Regions from separate parts of the Homo sapiens genome. Here all the other regions are linked to region 2. Evidence: promoter capture Hi-C in 16 types of primary human blood cells and fetal thymus (Javierre and others, 2016). All regions are on one chromosome and are shown on one strand. The core of a region is centred on a gene start or on the middle of the fragment in contact, and the rest is flanking DNA. Distances in the headings are between cores, read along the strand shown.

The links. Contacts are between HindIII fragments. The CHiCAGO score rates a contact against its expected background, and 5 or more counts as called.
Region 1: a fragment that was not itself captured here is called in contact with the fragment with the promoter of TUBB2B in region 2 in 2 of 17 cell types (M2 macrophages and activated CD4 T cells); the score reaches 5.4 in M2 macrophages.
Region 3: a fragment that was not itself captured here is called in contact with the fragment with the promoter of TUBB2B in region 2 in 2 of 17 cell types (monocytes and M1 macrophages); the score reaches 5.8 in monocytes.

What each region holds. Positions count from the first base shown.
Region 1 is chr6:3,995,372-3,998,190 of GRCh38, reverse strand. No RefSeq gene overlaps it. Among named protein-coding and RNA genes, the nearest start is that of PRP4K, 25 kb to the left of the region's middle. The HindIII fragment of the contact is 643 bases long and covers 1,159-1,801 here.
Region 2 is chr6:3,226,296-3,228,995 of GRCh38, reverse strand. It overlaps TUBB2B (tubulin beta 2B class IIb), which reads left to right and starts at 1,343. Exons shown (of 4, transcript NM_178012.5): 1 at 1,343-1,509; 2 at 2,327-2,435. The coding sequence starts at 1,453. RefSeq lists a silencer at 1,147-1,436 and enhancers at 1,041-1,699, 1,700-2,360. The HindIII fragment of the contact is 13,618 bases long and covers 1-2,216 here.
Region 3 is chr6:3,976,872-3,979,797 of GRCh38, reverse strand. It overlaps the pseudogene GLRX3P2. Among named protein-coding and RNA genes, the nearest start is that of PRP4K, 43 kb to the left of the region's middle. RefSeq lists a silencer at 1,209-1,503. The HindIII fragment of the contact is 944 bases long and covers 973-1,916 here.

The DNA of each region.
Region 1 (2,819 bases), core at 231-2,730, 770 kb before region 2:
TCTCCATGATTGGCCCTCCTTAATTTATCTCTTTTAGTCTTGAAGTTTCAGGCACACCTCCTTTTCTTTTATTGAAATTCTCAAAGCCAGGTACAGTGGCTCACCTGAGTTTATTCAAGGCTAATCCGTAATTAGGGAAATAAAGGTTACAGCTGCCTGTTAGTGACTCAGGTCGTATAATCACATTCCTTTAAGGCTCAAAATAACGTTCCAATAGCTTTGATTTTGAATTACTTATTTTCACAAGTTCTATAAAATTACAGAGTTCTCATCTATTTTTGTTGGCAGCTGTTTGCCTAGCAGTTGAAAGTGCTTAGCACATGATAGTATATGATAAACATTTGTTTAATTTATTTCAATATTGTCAGTCCATATTCCAGCTTCTTTGGCAAAGGAGACTGTTGTTTTTATATGAATTTATCCAAATTTTAGTTGTTTCCAGCTAAGTTTAGACCAAGAGCCCCCACAGAATTACTTCCATGTCAACTAGTAGAGGAAGAGCTTTAATTTAGGATTTAAATGCCACACCACAATTATCTAAAGTGACTGAATTGAGCTACTGAATAATAGTCCTTCTAAAGAAGATTTTAGACACACATTTCATTTCTGTTATTGCTGACAAGTGTTTTATTTTACAGAATAAAAGGCATCTTGCCTGGGATAAAATTTCGAAAGGCTGTGTTTTTGTAGCACTTTCTTTTTTGGAAGGATCTCTTTTTAGCTACTCTGTGTCATGGTGATGTTGAGTTCTCTGTTGGAAGCTAGAGTTCCTGGGTTTTTTGATGTTTCTAGGCTTTTGGGTTTTGTTTAAGATTTGTGTTTTGGGAAGGAACATTTCCATGGTTACGCCCATTCCTTCTACCATCCTTGAAAAAACGAGCCAGTAGAGTAATCTGATTCCTGGATTACTACTACACAGATGTCTTTTGTATCTGCCTACACATGAAACTGCTAGGCAAGTTCCATTTCCATGCATTTACTTCCTTCAGTGCTTTTTAAAAATGAAGCACTTTTAAGATTAGGAATGAAAGACTTGGATTGGCAAGTTAAACAGGGATTGGCCTACGTTATGTTAATAGTCTAAACTCAATGTAGGATTAATTTAGAGGTACAGTATATGAAGGGAGAGACTGTTTTGGGAACAACTAAATCGAAGCTTTGAGCAGAATTTGCACACATGTGAGTAATACTATATGCAGAAAGACTGCTGTACTTAAAAATAGTTTTCAGGTTTTTAAATATAAAGTTTCATGTTGGAATAGTAAAATAAAACATATGAACTTTTACTGACATGAAGCAGTAAAATTAACTTTTCCTTGGAACAGCTTGCATGCTCATTGCTGCTCCACACAAACCTAGGTTAAAGATGCCCATGATCTAGCAGTTTTCTTCTCTGAACATTGCAGAGCATTTGCACAGACATGCTTGAATTTACACTCATGAGTCCATTTCAAGTAAGAAGAGGGAGTAAGAGAGGGACCTCCTTCTCAGGGTTAAGGAAGGCCTAAATTATGAAAAAGTAGTGCAGCTTTTTTCTTAAGTTAAAGTAACGGTAAATTTACACCACATTTCTCTATGAATCCAGTATATGAAAAGTTTAATTTGCGTGTTAACTATTGCTGTGCAGACAGCTTGTCAAGTGATGATTTTGACAGCCTGGTGTCTGTCTCCATTCTGCTGGAACATCAGACGCCATTTCTCTTCTTCCTGAGAAAACCACCTCTCATACTTTGGTATCCCTCTAAAGTGTTTCAATTGTAAATTACTACTAATATATAATTACTATTCATTTATAGAAGCTTCTAGCTTAAACATAAAAATATACTAAAAGTGAAACAACCGTAATCTTAACCTCTAGACATAGATTATTTTTCTATGAACACATTAACATATATGTCATAGTTACTATTGTTTTTTACAATAAAAGGCTCATACTATACATACATACAACTTGTTCTGGTATATATTTTGAATCTTCATAATAGCATTTGTAGATATGCTTTATTTTTTGTAGTTTTGTTTTTTTCTTTAGCCATCCTTGCAAATACTATGTATTTTGCTTCCTTAAATCAGTATTTCAGTAGGAAAAATTCTTAGAAATTAAACTGTGAGGGCAAGCAATTGTGAACATTTACATTTTAATAAGTACCAACAAATTACCTTAAAACGTGTACCGATGGATACTCTTAGTAAAATGTAAGAGAGTGATTCACTACATTCTTACTAGCTCAGGCATTATCAATTTTTTTTTATTTTAAATTACTGCCTAAGAAATACAGTCATATATCTTGTTCTTTTATTTTAAATTTCTATTTGAGAAGTTATGCACTTTTGTTTGTTTGTTTTTTGAGACAGAGTCTTACTCTGTCATCCAGGCTGGAGTGCAGTGGCACAATCTCAGCTCACTGCAACCTCTACCTCTCAGGTTCAGGTGATTCTCGTGCCTCAGCCTCCCGAGTAGCTGGGATTACAGGCGCCTGCCACCACGCCTGGCTGAGTTTTGTATTTTCAGTAGAGATGGGGTTTCACCGTGTTGGACCAGCTGGTTTGGAATTCCTGACCTCAGGTGATCCCCCCACTCAGCCTCCCAAAGTGCTGGGATTGCAGGCGTGAGCCACCATGCCTAGCCAGTTACACACTTTTTAATGTGATTATTAATCACCATTATTTCTACTTATTCAAGCTGACTGTTCACATATTTTACTCTTTTTAAAGCATGCATTTTAAATAAATTGATAATAAATGTTTTTGTCAAATATTGCACGTCTTCTCCCCTACATTTATTGAATGCTTACTGCATGCTAGGCTCTGTGCTAAAT
Region 2 (2,700 bases), core at 94-2,593:
GAAAAGTAACAAAGAGACCAGTTCCTGCCTCAGTACCTAGAGACTGCGGATCTGAAGGGAGGGTCTGTGCTCCAAGTCTGTGCACGCGCTCGTGCGAGTGCGCGTGGGTCTTGGGTCGTCTCGCGCGCGCTGGGCTGCAGTTTTTAGTCGTATTCCCCACCCTTCAACCGCAGCACGAAGCCTCGGACCTCCAGGTCGCCGCGATGGAAGATAAGAAAGTTTGTTACTCGGGCTTGGGCCACCCTTGGAACCCACCCTCTTACTTGACAATAGATGAACTGAATCCGAGGGCGGGGTGGGGGGGTGGGGCGCCTGTCGTGTGGTTTTAAATACTGGGTTACACAGCGTATCCCACGTTTCTGAGAGCCCTTTGTTCCGCCGACAGCCCCGCCCCCGGGACCCCACCCTCTTTCTGCCCTCCGGACGGTCAGTGCAGCGCCACCGGCCACTCCCACTCCATCACTAGCGAGCAACAAAAGTCAACCCCCGGGGCAGAGGGCTCCTGGGTACCAGCAGGGGCGTTATGCACTCCCGGAGAGGGTCGGGCAGGGCTGAGGGGCTCCGAGGTCGCTTCACCCCTAGATGCTGCGGCGCAGTGAGAGGAGCTACCAGCCCAAGACAGACAAAGGAGAAAGCAGGCCCACGCTGGGGCGGGGGCGGAGGCCGCGCTGGTGTTCATGGGCCGCAGGTGTCCCGGTTGCCATCAAGCACGACTTCCTTCTGGGGCCACCTGTCCTCCCCCAGGCCTCTGTGAGACGGAGCGCCGCCTGGGCAGTCGCTGGCCTCCAGGGTTGAGGAAAAAGACGGTGGTCTCACCAGGGGCAGTTGGCTGGAGGGACTCTGGCCAGTGGCCGAGTAGGAGCCGCAGTCCGAGGTGGCGGAGCAGCCTGTGCCACCTCAGCCCTCCCACCTGCCGGCACTGGAGCACCTGACGGCTTCTCCACATGCTCCAGTCCTCCATCGTTCCCATCCGGTGCCAGCTCTGCCCCCACCCCGGTCAGGACGCGCTGGTGGCCCTCGCCTCGCCGCCCTCTCACCCTCCTTTTCTTCACTGTTCCCCCATATCCCCATACCCAGACCCCCACCACAGCCCCAGACAATGCGCACGCCCCCACCATACTCCCGGTAGCCCCCACCCCTCTCCCGGTCGGCACGCCCGCTCTGATTGGCCGCGGGCCGGTGGTCCAGCCCCCCGGACGGTCCCTAGGGCTCGGAGCATTACGTCAGCCGGGCCTGGAGAGCGCCAGCGCGAAGGGGACTGGGGGGCTCGGGCTGGGGGCGCGGCCTGTGCCGGCCGCCCCACCCTCCTTGCATAAAAGCCGGAGCCCGCGGGGCCGGCGCTCTCAGCCCGTCGGTTCCCGAGCGCCTTCCCGGTGACCCCGCAGTGGGTGTGTGAGGGGAGGACGGACAGACCCAGACGCCGCCGGACCAGGAGGACGCTGACGAGGCACCATGCGTGAGATCGTGCACATCCAGGCGGGCCAGTGCGGCAACCAGATCGGCGCCAAGGTGGGCGCGCCGCAGCGGAGGGGGTCCAATGGGGGCGCGAACCTGGGCCGAGAGCCCCTCGGGGTCCCCAGGCGCGGTCCTGGGAAGGCCTGGGGATCGCCAAATGCAGACCTTCCTGGCCGCTTTGTGCCGCCGAGTGTGGCCTGGGCTAGGAGGTGACTTTCGCGGACGGAGGGGGCACCTCTCTTTCTTTCTGCTGTAACTCATTTGGAGTCCCCGTCACCCCCTCGGCCTCCCTCCGCGCTGGCTGCTTGGCAGGCACGCGTGCCTGGAGAAGACGAGGGTGTGTCCGCGAGGCTGTGCGCGGCGCTCCGCGCGAGGGGCTGGGACACCAGGAGGATTAATTGTACTCGCTTGAACCGGAGTCGAGCTGCCGGGGGAGGGGAGGAGAGCGATTGTCTTGCGGTCTCAGGACGTGCTTTGAATCTAAAACCGCGGTCCTTTAGCTCCTTTGCGTTCCTCTTTCCCCGCCCACCCGCTCCTGGCGGGCTGCAGTCCCTGTGCCCTCGCCTCCTGCCGCAGCCTGGGGCTGCGACCAGTGCGCCAAGCTCCGCCACTGCCCGGCTTTGGCTGGTCCTTACCCCCTCGACCCCTACCTCCCCCCGCGAGCGGCAGCTGTTTGCCTGGGAAACGCCCAGTTTCAACTTTCTGAACCTGCAAAATACAAGCCCCGCGGCTGTGCCCGGGTCACGACGCCCTTTAAAGCTTCAAGCTCCTGAAATGTTGGGTTGTCGGAACTGAGTCGGGGACATTTCATTGTGAGCCTTGGCGTTTCTGGGGGCATCGTTCATGGCTAAATGCAGCCTTTCTGTCTCAGTTTTGGGAGGTCATCAGTGATGAGCATGGGATTGACCCCACTGGCAGTTACCATGGAGACAGTGATTTGCAGCTGGAGAGAATCAATGTTTACTACAATGAAGCCACTGGTAATCACCCTTGCCCCACCCCCACTCCCTTCAGTTTTTCCACCTTCTCCCCTTTCCCTTGCGTGGGACCCCAGGGGTGTGGCCCTGGGAGAGGGTGGACTATTCAGTTTAGGATCCCCGCTCTTTCCCTGCAGTATTTCATTGGGCTTCCTTATGCCAACAGAGCCCTTTGAGAACCTGATGGTGGGTCTCCCTTTGTTTGGGGCAACATCTGCATGATGGCAGCAGGCGCCAAGCCCTTCTCTGCAGAGGTCCTTGCCTGAGG
Region 3 (2,926 bases), core at 195-2,694, 750 kb before region 2:
GTTCTGTAATGAGTGAATGATTAAACAAATTGTAGTACATTTATACTGTGGAAATACTACTAACAGTAAAAACAGAAAAACAACACACACATAGCTTAGAAGAAATTATGCTGAGTGAAAAAAAGCCAATCTTAAGCATGTTGCGTGATTTCATCTATGCAACATTGATGAAACATCATTTTTGAAATGGAGAACAGATTACTGGTTGTGAGGGATTAGGAATGGGGGAAGAGGGAATAGGTATGTTCATAAAGTGGTAACATGCGGGACTCTTACGGCTATGGTACTGTTGTGTATCTTGATTGTGATGGTGGCTATCCAAGACAACACAAGTGATAAAATTGCAAAAAGTTATGCCAAACACACACGGGCATGTGTAACTTGTGAAATCTGAATGAGCTCTGTAGATTGTACCAATTTCAGTTTTTTTCTAGTAGCTGTATGTTTAATATTGCTGTAAAGATACACTTTTTTATACAGTTATTGTTAATAATTTGAAGATGTTTATTGCATTCTATTTTTAGTGGGAAAACATGTAACATACTTTTATTTAGCACGACATTGTGAAATACAAAAAACATGTAACTGAGTAAGCAGGATTTTTCTATTCCTAGCCCATTTCTGAGGACTAAATCATGAACTGCTCCCAATGTAATTAAGTATTTCTTGCAATAGTTGGGCACCAAGTTTAAGATTTATTAATTTTCTCCTCTCAGTATAGGCAGCAATTCACCATTTTCTTTCAGCTCTTTCACAATATCCAATCCTCCCACCAGCTCCCCTTTCACATACAGCTGAGGGTATGTTGGCCAATTTGAGTAAGCTTTTAATCCTTGCCGATCTCCTTCATCCTCCAATATATCGAATGTTTCATATTCACCACCAGTACTATTTAGTATTTCCAGAATTTGTTTGCTGAATCCACATTTTGCTTCCTGTTTGTTTCCTTTCATAAAGAGCATCATAGAAGCTTCATTTGTCAGCACTTTGAGCCTTTCCTCTAATTTGGGAGCTTTGGGACAAATTATATCTAGTTCTTCAGATGCGTGTATCTCCTTAATTATATCAAGTCCTCCTATGAGCTCTCCAGAAACGTAGAGCTGAGGATAGGTAGGCCAATTGGAATAGGCTTTGAGCCCCTGTCGAACCTCTTGATCTAAAGACATCAAAACTGCTAAACTAAATATTATGTTTGTGAACAATTTCCACCATCTGCTTGCTGAAACCACAGAGTGGTTCTTGAGGAGTTCCTTTCATAAACAGCATGCAGGGGGCAGCATGAGTCAGTTTCTGTAAGCGAAGGTTGAGATCTTCTTTAAGATGTTCGTCAGTGCTGGGTGGGAAGGAGCCACTAGATGCATGTCGCTGAGCTTTTTTGGTCTTTAAGATGTTCATCAGTGCTGGGTGGGAAGGAGCCACTAGATGTCGCTGAGCTTTTTTGGTCAACTCTGGGATGTGTGCACCATCTAATCGGTCAATTTTCTGAGAATTATTGAAAAACAGAAAAGTGGGAACAGAGCCAATTTCATATTTTTCAGATACTTCAGGAACACCTTCAGCTTCCAACTTCACAAATGAAACTTGAGGGTGTTCTTTAGCTAACTCTGCCATAACTTCGTTCATCTGTGCACATTGTGGACCACAAGGAGGGACTTGGCTTTGAGGCGCAGCAGCTCCTCAAACTGGCCGGCTGAGCTGACCTCTTCTACAGCTGCTGCAGCCGCCTTGCTGCCCCTGCCACCGTGCTGCCGCCACCACCAATTTCAATTTTTCATTTTCGATATTATGCTATAGTCGTTCAGGATGTTAACAGTGAGGGAGTCTGGGGGGGCGGTGCATGAGACATCCCAGTACCTTTTTTTGAATTTTGAAATAATATTTCCTGTGAATCTATAATTATTTAAAAATAAAAAGCTTTAAAAATCTTCAAATAAATAAGCAGATACTTTGGAAGATAAAGTCAATAACATATCCCAGAAAGAACAAAAAAGGCAGTGTGGAGGACAGAAGGAGAGAAGGGAAGGGAAAAGATAAGAAAATTAGAGAATCAACTCAGAGGTGCATGATATTAGGAATTCCAGAGAGAACAGAGTAAACAAAGGAGAAGAAACTAAAATAATAAAAATCTACACGAACTTGAGAACATGTGCTTTTGTACAGAAAGGGCTTCCTGAGTGCCCATTGCAGTGATGCAGAAAGGCCCAGCACATCGGAATGACCTTTCAGAACACTGAGAGGCAAGGAGAACATCTGTGCTGGATTGCCTCTTGTCAACCTGATGACACCACCGTTCTTCTGAGGTTGGGAACTATACTTCCCAGAATTCTGTTCCCAAGGTGGCAGGGATGGAGCTGAGCTTAGGCTCGGTGAAAGTCTGATTTGCAAATGGCTCCTGCAGGGTGCCCAGCCTGCCAACAGCAGAGACAAACATTGAGCCCATGATGTGGCACTGTTATTTGGGGGAATCAACAGTTTAAGTAACGTGGACCATTTCCATCTTGCCAGAAGCACTGCTTTGTTCTCACTGGAGATGGATGGATTGCCCTCCCTGTCCACAGTGGTTCCTCCAAAATGGTCATCTCTGGACTTACTTACAGAATACCTAATGTATGATAGTGGCACTCTTCCTAGCTTTGCTTCTGACAAGGAACTGATTTCACAGCAAATGAAGTGCAGCAATGTGCTCACGAAAGCATGATGTTGTGAATGCCTTTATTTGGAATTCACTGGTCTTACCATGTTTGCCATCATCCTGAAGCTTGGCTTGATAGAGTGGCAGAATGGGCTTTTGAAGATTCAGTTATGGTGCCAGTTGATAAAATAACTTTGTGGAGCTGATTTAGTACCCGATGAGATGCAGAACATACTCCGAATCAGTGACTCATTTATGATGTAGTTTCCCCCACAGCAAAGATACGAAGTTTTA